Linked DNA regions of Homo sapiens: region 2 is linked to region 1. The links are contacts of gene promoters, found by promoter capture Hi-C in blood cells and fetal thymus (Javierre and others, 2016). All regions are on one chromosome and are shown on one strand. Each heading gives the region's core, a stretch centred on a gene start or on the middle of the fragment in contact. The rest is flanking DNA. Distances are from core to core; before and after follow the strand shown. Region 1 holds the start of HSPD1 (heat shock protein family D (Hsp60) member 1). Region 2 overlaps STK17B (serine/threonine kinase 17b).

What was found. Contacts are between HindIII fragments. The CHiCAGO score rates a contact against its expected background, and 5 or more counts as called.
Region 2: a contact is called between a fragment that was not itself captured here and the fragment with the promoter of HSPD1 in region 1, in 1 of 17 cell types (fetal thymus). The highest score is 5.9, in fetal thymus.

What each region holds. Positions count from the first base shown.
Region 1 is chr2:197,495,125-197,501,089 of GRCh38, reverse strand. HSPD1 (heat shock protein family D (Hsp60) member 1) reads left to right here and starts at 1,250. Exons shown (of 12, transcript NM_002156.5): 1 at 1,250-1,308; 2 at 2,240-2,415; 3 at 3,698-3,950; 4 at 5,714-5,796. The coding sequence starts at 2,242. It overlaps HSPE1-MOB4 (HSPE1-MOB4 readthrough), which reads right to left and starts at 711. Exons shown (of 9, transcript NM_001202485.2): 1 at 651-711; 2 at 1-16. The coding sequence starts at 653. HSPE1 (heat shock protein family E (Hsp10) member 1) reads right to left here and starts at 711. Exons shown (of 4, transcript NM_002157.3): 1 at 651-711; 2 at 1-16. The coding sequence starts at 653. RefSeq lists an enhancer at 591-650 and silencers at 791-850, 1,041-1,370. The HindIII fragment of the contact is 3,758 bases long and covers 1-2,591 here.
Region 2 is chr2:196,162,481-196,168,445 of GRCh38, reverse strand. STK17B (serine/threonine kinase 17b) reads left to right here. Exons shown (of 8, transcript NM_004226.4): 2 at 5,019-5,184. The coding sequence starts at 5,063. Among named protein-coding and RNA genes, the nearest start is that of STK17B, 6.1 kb to the left of the region's middle. RefSeq lists an enhancer at 1,216-1,285. The HindIII fragment of the contact is 905 bases long and covers 1,863-2,767 here.

The sequences.
Region 1 (5,965 bases), core at 1-2,500:
TAAACGCTTGTCCTGCCTGTAGGAAGAGAAATGTTTTGAAACAAAAACTAAATGTAATCACATTATCAACAGGCAACGCCACCGTGCTATACATCTCAACACGTTTTGGCTTTGAAAGTTAACACCAAACCTCAGCTTATTCGTTAAGGAAGCGCATTTGAATGTACTAACCAATATTCCAAGTTTAATTCCCGATTCCTTACGTCTGTTAGGGGTCGTTGTCGCTCCTCCGGTGAGCAACCAGACCAGCTTTAAGGTCAACCTTAGTTTATTCCAAGGTCAAATGTTTTCCTTCTTCAGGTTTTTCCAGAAATTTTCAGGAAACGCTGGGTCAAGCTCCCTGCCTGGCACCATGATTTTTACCCAAGATATTACACATCCACAAAGGCCCTGCAGAAGCAGGTGAGACGCTGCGCGTGCGCCCGGGTTCTCGCCCCCCTGCCTTACACACCGGCAGCACACGCGCGTGCAAAGAGCCCTGGGGGAGAAAAGGGTCGGGCGGGCCTTGCCGCTCCAAGGTGCCATCGGGCGCTGGTCACTGAGTGGCCACCAATCCCTCCCGCCCAGCCCAACAAAAGAGGGGCGTCAGGGATCCCCGTACGCCTCAGACAGGCCCGGGCCTGCAGGCCTCGGGGCCACGCGGGACTCACCATTACTCCCTCCGCCTCAGACTCGTACTCTGCTCTAGTGTAGCGCCGCAAAGAGACTCGCAGTCCGGCCCTGGCGACACGTGAAAAAATCACCCAGCGCGCAGGCGCGCTCGCCCCAGCGGTCGCCGCTAGCCCCCTCGCCCCTCCCAGGGAGGGAGGGCGGTCGCCCCGACGCGCACCGCGATTCGCCCCAAGGGCCCTGCGCAGGACGCTGACGCGAAGACTCGGAGGCGGAAGAAAAAAGGAGCTGTTTCTAGGCTTTTCTAGGCGCCCAGCCGAGGTGAAAGAACTACCCCTTCGTCCCCTCCCGGAAATGACGCGATTTGACCCTTGAGCCGTAGGGAGCGCGGCATTTTCTGGAAAGTTCTGGAACCGAGCGAGGCCCGGGAACTAGACTAAGCCGGCCGGAGAGGGCTGAGCGCGCTAGCACACCCTGCGCGGGTAGGGAGGGGCGGGGCTCGCGCGCAGGGTGTGCAGATTGCAGGGCCCGGGCTGACGGGAAGTGGGTGGGAGCTGCCTGCACACGCGGTGCCGCGGGGCGGGAGTAGAGGCGGAGGGAGGGGACACGGGCTCATTGCGGTGTGCGCCCTGCACTCTGTCCCTCACTCGCCGCCGACGACCTGTCTCGCCGAGCGCACGCCTTGCCGCCGCCCCGCAGGTACGCGGCCTTCCCGCACCACCTCCCCCCGGCTCCTGCGACCCCCGAGTGGGCCTTCCTCCTCTGCGGTCCAGCTGGAGGGTGCGGGCGGCGACAACCTGGAGTTCCGCACCGCGCCGCACCGCAGGCCCAGGCCTGCGGGTCCAGGCCTCGCGGGTCCATGCGGGTTCCATCACGTGCGACGCGGATCCTGGACCTCGGCTGGGCGCGGGAGGGACAACTCGTGGGGTTTGAATTTGGGGGATTGTAACCACTTAGGCCCGCTGGTGCAACCTGCGCCTGGCCGACTTCAGGGAACCGGGGAGGGTGGTGTACGTGAGGGAACCGCTTTTTTCCCCCGCAGGCAGCTGGGATACCGCGCCTCCAGTCTTGACCTTGCTGGGGGCGTTCGGAAAGAAGGACACGTGGGCTCGCGCCGAGTGGGCCGGGCCGCCGCCCCCAGCATCGCGGCCTTGCTGGTTGCTCTGATACAGTAGCCTTGGGTGGATCCATGGAGACACTTTGCTGAGCGGCTTTTTGCACCGTCAGGAATACTTTTAACTTCCCTGGTCACTTGGATTTGTAACTTGCCTCTCTCCGGCTGACTTGGTTTCTCAGGGGCCACAGTTGGAGTGGGTCTGCCCACAAGGCCGTTTTCGCGGTGAAAGATTAACTCGTTTTTGGCGGCAGGGATAGGTGGCCGTGGGGAAGGAGCCGCATGTGCTTTGTGCTGGTGCTATAGGTCAGGCGCCGGCCGGGGCGGCCTCTTTAGCTTGCGCTAGTGGCTGATGTTCCGAAGCTGCGGCGCCTTCCGTCATTCAGGCGTAGTGGCTGGCGGAGGTCAGCCAGGCTCAGCATCTCACGTTGCTTGCTCTGTTGCACAGGTGGGCATGTTTGTTCTGCAGCGCACCACGGGTGGTAGTTCTGATGATCTTTTTGCTTCCATCCCCAGAAATGCTTCGGTTACCCACAGTCTTTCGCCAGATGAGACCGGTGTCCAGGGTACTGGCTCCTCATCTCACTCGGGCTTATGCCAAAGATGTAAAATTTGGTGCAGATGCCCGAGCCTTAATGCTTCAAGGTGTAGACCTTTTAGCCGATGCTGTGGCCGTTACAATGGGGCCAAAGGTACCAGTATTTTTATTTTATTGTAATTACGGTATTATTAATAGCATTTTACTCACAAATAGTCGCACTGAACTATTCAACAGTACTTTCATCTCCATTTTTGAGAGAACTCAGTTTACATGTAAGAATTCTGAAGTATTGGTTAGCCTTTTTTTCTTAGACATGATCTTAAAGCTTAAACTGCTTCAGCCAGATTTTCGAAACTATTTTGTTCAATGTGTGATGTAATCAGGTAGTAACTTACAGCTCAAGGTGGATTCTTAAACTCGAGGTAGAATTTCGCTGGCTTAAGTTAAAATTTGGATCCTTTCCCAGTAGTTCATGCCAAGTGTAGAGAGAAGAGTTTAACTTATCTTCCATAATTCCTTAGGTATGTGCTTGTAGATGCTAAATTTTTTTTTGGTTTATTGTAGTAAAATGTACACAACATAAAATTACCATTAAGTGTGCACTTTGGGGACATCAATTACATTTATGTTGTGCAGTCATCACCACCATCCATCTCCAAAACTTTTTATATGGAAAAATTGTAACTTTGTACTCATTAGACAGTAGCTTCCCATTCTCTCCTCCACCCCAAGATGCTAGTTTTACCCATCGGTTTTCTGCTGTTCTCTTGTTCCAAAGCATATTTAAAATAAGTCTCATTTAATAGGGGTAATGTTTTGAGGAGGCCTTTGAAGGTGGTGTGCAGTCAAGTGGTGCTTCATTTCAGTTTGAAGACAGTTCAGATATCAAGTGATCCAACAACTGCCTAAAATACAACATTTGCACACCTCACAAATAGAAAGTAGCAGCTTTAGTTCAAATCCAAAGGATGGCCAATAATTGTGCCATGGTTGAAGTTTTATGTTGCGTGAACCTGGAAGAGCACGCTACTTGCCTTGATGGTTAATATTTTAGTTAAACGGATTTTAAAACAAGTCACATTACTTTAAAAGATAACAGGCACTAACTAAAGTATAAGTGATAGGAAGATTGTTTTATTCTTTGTCTTGTGTTCTTGTTCATTTTATAAGATGACAAGTTTTAGTCCCTAGGATTTTAATCTCCTAAATTACCTAGTTCAAAATTATGCTCTTGGCAGAGAATCAGGTCATTTTGTCTGTAGACAAAGAATGTCGATAAACTTGCCCTTGAGGTTCATGCTGCAAGACTGATAAAAATGACACAACTTACGTTGAGACTTTGAAGTAGTTGCTTTATTATGAAGACTGCTCATTTTTAAAAATGTAAATCATCCTTAGGGTATGTCTGATCCTGTTACATTTTTTTCTTCTAGGGAAGAACAGTGATTATTGAGCAGAGTTGGGGAAGTCCCAAAGTAACAAAAGATGGTGTGACTGTTGCAAAGTCAATTGACTTAAAAGATAAATACAAAAACATTGGAGCTAAACTTGTTCAAGATGTTGCCAATAACACAAATGAAGAAGCTGGGGATGGCACTACCACTGCTACTGTACTGGCACGCTCTATAGCCAAGGAAGGCTTCGAGAAGATTAGCAAAGGTGCTAATCCAGTGGAAATCAGGAGAGGTAGGAATGTCTGTTGTCACCACAGTGTTCTAAACTTCAGTGTGCTTTAAGGCATTGATTCCTTGGACCTAAGGAAAGTGTTAACTTGAGGAAATTAATCCTTCTCTCATTCCTCCTCTTGGCCTGGAGAAATCTTAAACTGGGTTTTCCTTTAGCAAGCTTGGCTGTATGGTGGGTAGGTACTGTTAGGTAATTTTGATATTTTACTTAGTTGGTTTCTTTTGTTTTTAGAGACAGGGTCTTGCTCTGTAGCCCAGGCTGGACTGCACTGGAACTCCTGGGCTCAAGCAATCCTCCTGCCTCAGCCTCCAAGTAGCTGGGACTACTACAGGCACTCACCACCATTCCTGGCTAATTTTTAGTTTAGTTTTGTAGAAAGTAAGACTAAATACACTGGATCATTCAGAATGTCAGAAAGTAATGTTTTCCTCAGTTTATTTTTTCTTAATAGCACACACCATGTTATTGGTTTGTGTTTTGTTAGTGCTTGTAACTAGAGTGCAACTTAATTAACAATTTGCTCCTCCTCATGAGGTTCATGGCAGTATAGACTTAAATTCTAGTCCCATGTTTGTCATTTATTAGCTGTGTGCTAAGACTTGGTTTTCCTATCAGCAGAATTGCTATGTATATCTAGGGTATGTTAGGGTTCAAACCAGGAACCCTCTTGTAAGTGAAGGTGGGGGGAGCTATTGGTAATTTTTTGTCAGAATTGGCATACTAATTTATTACTACATTACTAATGTATCATTACCTCATCTATTTCAGTGTTTATGGGCCAAGTGAATATACTTCACTAAAAGCAGTTTTACTGTAAATCACTAACAAGTATTAATTAAGGTTATGAAGAGGACTTACCAGCACCTTGCATTGGATTTTTTTTGAAGTAACAGTTCTCAAACAAGAGAGCTAGCACTATTCCCAATTGAGCAAAATGGGACTATTAAGACTGATGTAAAACAAAAATATTTTGTTAGTTCATAATACGTACTAAATTGAGGGGATTTCAGATAATTGACACCTGCAGAGGCATAGTCACAACAGATTCCTATCATTTAAGAACTGTACTTCTTGTTGAAAATAAGGGAGTGTTAGCCATTTTGGTCCTTTTTTGCATCATCTAATGGACATGAGAAGTGTCGTGGACCCTATTGGAAACAGCATGATTGGGTTAGGAATTTGCATAGGATGAGTTCAGTGGTGAGACTTTTGAAACTACACACATCTACCTTGTTTTAGTCCTATTTTCAAAATTTTGGCATTGTGAGATTTTATTTACTGTGTGAACCTAAAGTTACTGTTTAAGTACATGCCACGCAACTCTGTGTTATTAAGAAGCACTGTCTCAGAAGCTGTGTGTAAATTTAATATTAAGGCACTAAAGACCAAGCATAGGTACATGCCTGTAGTCCCAGCTACATGGGAAGCTGAGGTGGGAGGATTGCTTGAGCCCAGGAGTTCAAGACCACCTTGGGCAACATAGTGAGACCTTGTCTACAAAAATAAAAGAAGCTGAGCATGGTGGCTTGAGCCTGTGGTCTCAGCTACTCCCTTGAGCCCAGGATGTCAGGGCTGCAGTGAGCCATGATCTGTGCTACTGCACTCTAGCCTGGGCAGCAGAACAAGACCCTGTCTCAAAAAAAAAAAAAATTTTTTTTTTTAAGTTAAGGCATTAAAATATTTGTCACAAATCTCAAGATTTCTACTTGACATAGAAGCCATGAGAGAAATAAACATTGTAATGACATATATCGTTGAACTAGGTGTGATGTTAGCTGTTGATGCTGTAATTGCTGAACTTAAAAAGCAGTCTAAACCTGTGACCACCCCTGAAGAAATTGCACAGGTAAGGACTTAACATGTTACACGTTTTTTAAAAAAAATTTAATGGCATGTGTGATTTTTTTTTTCCCTTGATCACACCAATGTCAGAATAACAATACTACCCAATCATCAATATTAGAATCATTGTTTCTTACTGCTAAAACCTTTGAAAAGAATTATGACCATAATGG
Region 2 (5,965 bases), core at 1,066-3,565, 1.3 Mb after region 1:
ACAATATTTTACAACAGAAACCCAATTTTCCGTCTTGTGAGTGACAAGCACCATGCATTTGTTGCCCACCCCGGAATCCCCCACTCTATTTCCGTTTTTCAACCTTTTATCCTGGTTCACAATTAACAGGTTTAACTCTTTTTCTGGAGGTGGGAAGACACAGCATTAGGCCTTAGGGTCTTGGCACAGAGTCAGGCCTAGGAGTCATTGCCTGACACTTCAGCCCTTGGATAGTATATACTAGAATGGTTGGATTAGAGTTAGTTTAGCTGACTTCCTATTGTGATTTTTAGAGGATTAAGTTTATGAATTATATTTTCTGTTCAAAATATTTTAAAAAACAAAACCTGTTGGCAGAATACATATGAGGAATATAATCTCTTCCTTGAAATTGAAAATCATCATCATTTCCATCTTGATACCAATACTTCTAATCAATGACTAATTAAAAACACATACTTCTGCCACACCAGGAGAAAGTTCTTCCTTTACTTTTGATGGACGTTAAATCTCTTTTTCAGTTTCCTAGGGAAAGCTTGCTAGCAGTAAATGCCTTAAATGCCTATGTAGAAAGGAGTTGCTTCCCTTAGAATCTTCGGGCTTACTTTGCTTCCTGTTGCCTTTCCAATGTACTTCATGATGATCTAGACTTATCAGTGATAAATCTTGATAGGACACTTACCTGAATCTCCTGATTTTTGGAGGCTCTTAAAAGAGTGATGTTCTTAACTGCAGTAGGTATTTGTATTAGTAGCTTATATTAAAAACAAGTAGCCACCTTGTCTGGAAACAGTGGTAAAAACAAAAGGTCTATTGGCATTACATTATAGTATATGACAAAATAATTTTATCTGTGTTTCCAGACTTTGTGGCTACCTGTTTAGAACTGACATTTTGTAAGTGCAATTTAAAATAGTTACTTTATTTGTCCAAATGCTGAATTAAGCAGAGACTAGCTGCATTCAGAGCTCCAGTACTGTAAATTCAAGATGGATCTCAAGTTCTCCTAACCCCTCGAAGACATGAGATATACCTACAAATTCTTTTTTCTATATCTCATAATTCTTACAATTCAGTTCATCAAACATTTTTAAAATTCCTACCGGGTGGCAGATACCATGCTGGTTGCTTAGGCACAAAAGTAAAAGGATGCTGCCCTTTAAACACTGAACAGAATTGCAATCTAACATGTTACATTTTGAGGTAAAGAAGTATGCCAAGGATCCTCTTATTTGAAGCATAAAGGAGAAGCCTTTAAATCAGCCTGTGGTTTTTAGGCAAAGCTTCCTGGGGGAGAGGCCATTCTGTGTTGAGTTTTGAAGGATGTGTAAGAAGAGTTAGCCATTTAAGGAAAGTAGAAAGGCTTTTTCAGGCAAAGAAGTATAACAAAGATGTGGTGGCAAAATATGAAATATGAGTGCGGCAGGAAATGTAGCTGGTGTATACTTGGCCTCAGAGGCCTTTATGTGTCATGCTGTAAGTACTTGAAAGCTTGTAGATACTGGGGAGCTAATGAAGGAATCAAAACAGACAATTTGATTTTCTAAATGTCTTTATTATTGTATATTCTATTTTTTAAAAACTTTCTTATTTGATAATTTTGAAATAAATATCATGATAAATACTTTTTAAAATAGAGCTAGAGGTTTATAGAGATAGTCTTGCTTTTGTTCACATCACACTTGCTTTCTGCATTCAAGTAAGTGAAGGCCCAGATCAAGCCTAACATTTCCTTCTTTTCCTTCCTTCACTGATCTACTTCCAAATTCTTTTGGTAATTATTATAATGAGAATTAATGAAAAAAATCTTTAAAAATAAGTGAGATACCATTATTTGTAGTAGTACTGTGTGATTAAAAGCTTAATTGTGTCTTACCTTCTATTACACTTTTTATAGGATCTAATCGTGTATACACATGCATATAAATTTACTTACCAGGTCCCTTAAGATTTTTTTTAAATGCTATAACCTGATAAAATGTTATGAAATGAATTTCAAATGGAGTGAGACATATAGGTAATTTAGAATCGGTAATATGAAGTGTGGTAGAAGACAAGAAAAGGCCTGGGAATTGTTGGAGTTAAAGAGAATTTGGTGGGAAATTTAGGAAGATACAAGAAGGAGCGACAGAGAGCTGACTCATAACCTGCATGTACCTTATATGAAGGGCAACCAGATGTTTGAGGAGGGCTTGGTGGACAAAGGTGACATTCATGCTCCACTATATGCAAAACTGGCCAAAGGAGAGGAAATGGAAAAATATCTTGGCTCTGACAATTGGTTCAGATGCAGTAAATAAAAGGAAAATGAACTTAAGAAATGCTTAATGGATGCCTAAAGCAGCTTGTGATGTAGGTATATTTTTAATAAATAGATGAACTTATGAGGAAATTGGTACCCATATTGATCTTTCAGAACAATGGAAAAAAATCAGTGAAACTGAGCGCTATCAGAACTAAGAAGATACATAAGTAGTTAAAACAGAAAACAAAAATACTTTTAAGAATGAAGTTTAGACTAAGTTGGGATGAGAATTTTGTACATGGAAACAGTACAGCTGTTCAACAATGGCAGGGAACTGCAGGGAGAGTATTTTTGGGTAGAATGTTAATTTTGTTTTGTGGAACAATAGCGATATGCCCTTGTGACTTGCACTGTACCTGTGTCAGTGGACATGAGTTCAGCATATTTTAATTTTTAATCCTTGCAGCACTGGAAGATCAATTCTTTTATCATCCATACTTTAGAGGCAGCAAAATCGAAGCTTTCTTCACCAGTAAAAGGGAATGCGAAGTAAATCACAACAAAATTCCATTTCACCTTCATCACACTAGAATAGCCAAACTTAAAAGTCTGAATTGGGCAAGTATTGTCAAAGTAGTGATAAACCGTCCCATCCAGTGCTAGTGGGAGTGTAAACTGGGGGTGGAAAGAAGGGGCTATGTCTAATATGTTTTATTTTTAATTTAAATGAAATATGACCAAGTAATAAGATTGGAAAGTAAATGTTTGTATATAGTGTTCCTTATCTTACATTTGAAATATTATATATTTTGTTTTCTTTTTAAATAACTGTGTTGCCGCAGATCAGGCGACTTAACAGAAGTATATTTTCTCAACGATTCTGGAGGCTAGAAATCTGGGATCAGGGTGTCTGCGGGGTTGGTTTCTTCTGAGGCCTGCCCTCTTGGCTTGTAGATGGCTGCCTTCTCCTAGTGTGTTCACATAGTCTTTCCTCTGTGTGTGTCTGTGTCCTAATTGGCCCACTTTAATGACCTCATTTTAACTTAATCACCTTTTTAAAGGCCCTGTCTCCAAAGACAGTCACATTATGAGATACAGGGGTTAGGGTTTTTCAACTTAGGAATTTGGGGGAGGACACAATTCAGCCCATAACAATAGCAAAGTTAAATAATTTAATTAAGGTCTCATAGCTGGTATGATGGATGAATGGAATTCAGACCCAGGTGTCTTTCAGTCTAAAGGTTATTCTCAGAATGCTACACTACAACCCTTTGACTCCTAGAGATGTACCCCAAAACTAGTTAGAGCTGTTTCCCCAAAGACTAAGAGATGTAGAGAAAACAATTTTACTATCTAGTTATGTGAAAGCTATAATTTTAATTTAATTTTTTGAGACAAGGTCTCCATCTATCGCCCAGGCTGAACTGCAGTGACGCGTTCATAATTTGAGAATAACACCAAGAAGAGAAAATGTAGAAACTGAAAACGCTGAACTCTAATGACACTGCTTTTTGGCTAAGTAGACTATAGTTGGCATTTGAATTTAAGAAGATAAAGAACAGTACATATAAGTAGAAAATAGGAAAAAAAGATGTCAGAGGAGGAACAAATGCTTAGCGGGTTACTACAGGAGGGTGCTAAAAGAATAATAATTGATATTTTATTAAGTAGGCATAGCAATAAGTCATAAGTGTCTTGAAATATAGTATCTGTTATTGTTTTATGAATGCAATTAATATAATAGTTTTGATAACACTGAATGCATATAAACATCACAAATTTCCAGATACATATATGAGCTTCAGATACAGAACTTCGAAATAAAGCTTTATGTATAGGTTAGTCACTCTTCCAACAAAATTATTGAGCACTTCATACATAGCAGGCTCTGTGCTAGGTCCTGTCAAAGGAGGGACTCTTAAGACCTTTGAGAGTTTCTGAGTTTAGTACTGAAACATAGCCAATCCGTGGAAGAAGTTCTATTTCTTGTAGTCCTTCACGTCAGTAATATAACTCACAATATGTGCATTTACCACCAAATTTCTTTAGCCATGTGAAAATAAGTTTAAAATGAATAATTATTATCTTGTCGTATTAAATTACCTATTATGTGAAACCTATAACTTTATTTATTTATTTATTTATTTATTTATTTATTTATTGAGATAAGATCTCGCTTTATTGCCCAAACTGAACTGCAGTAGCACATTCATAGCTCACTGCAACCTCAAACTTCTGGGCTCAAGTGATGCTCCTGCCTCAGCCTCCCAAGCAGCTGGGACTACAGGTGCGAGCCACTACACCCAGTTAATTTTTAAATTTTTTCATAGAGATGGGATCTCGCTATGTTGCCAGGACTGGTTTTGAACTTCTGGCCTCAAGTGATCCTCCTGCCTCAGCCTCCCAAAGTGCTGGGATTATAGGCGTATACCACCATGTCCAGCTGAAACCTCTATAACTTTAAAGAATGGAGTTTTATGATGAAACTAAGTGATTGTTTGCATTATAATTTTATCATAACTATTTTTTTTAAATTGAGAGGATTTTTACCGTAGTTTTATTCTGAAATGAAGTCAGTAACTTCGTTCAAGTGCCATAGTGTTATTATGGTTTATGTGTATGCTTTTTGTTTTTTCCTCCTTGTGGATAGAATGTGCTCTTTAAATCTTTTTTTTTTTTAGTTGTATTTTATAGCTATATTTGGAGCTGTGTAATGTAATGCACATCCTGCCTGAGATAACATCTTTTCTCTGTATTCTCTTTTTTTGCATAGGTAAAAATAAGTGACTAAAGAAGCAGACCTGGGAATCACCTAACATGTCGAGGAGGAGATTTGATTGCCGAAGTATTTCAGGCCTACTAACTACAACTCCTCAAATTCCAATAAAAATGGAAAACTTTAATAATTTCTATATACTTACATCTAAAGAGCTAGGGAGGTAAGAAAACCATATGACGTGTATGCCATCTAAATTCAAATTTTGGATTTGTGTTTTTATAATTCTATAAAACTCACTTGGGATCATTATTTAACAATGATTAGGAAGGAAAGTTGTGATCTCTGTTGCTGTTACCTAGGGTCCAGTCTTAACTGACTTGAAAATCAAATCTGTGGAGGGTTTAGTGAACTTAAATCATACATCCTACCTAGCCTCAGAGCCTCTGATAGGAGGTCTCTGTCGTTACATGAGGCTGTGCATGGGAAGAGGCAGCTCAGCATAGTGGACTGCCGAGTTCAAGTTTGGACTCCACCAGTTACTAGGTGTGTGACTTCAACTAAATAACTGTACCTCTTTTTTTAATTTTTGTTTGTGGCGGGGTCTCACTCTGTTGCTCAAGCTGGAGTGCAGTGACATGATCTTGGCTCACTGCAACCTCCTGTCTCCTGGGCTCAAGGGATCTGCCACCTCAGCCTCCTAAGTAGCTGGGACTACAGGCACACACCACCACACTGGGCTGGTTTTTTGTAGAGACAGGGTTTCTCCATGTTGCCCAGGCTGGTCTCCAACTCCTGGGTTCAAGCAATCCTCTGGCCGTGGCCTCCCAAAGTGCTGAGATAATTGGTGTGAGCCCCTGCGCCCTGCCTACTGTACCTCTTAGTGCTGTCGTTTCCTCATCTGAAAAGTAGGGGTGAAGATAATTGTGTCTGTCTTATATGGTTGTTATGAGGATTAAGTTAGTTAATATTTGTAAAGTGCCTAGTACAGTGCTCTGTAAGTT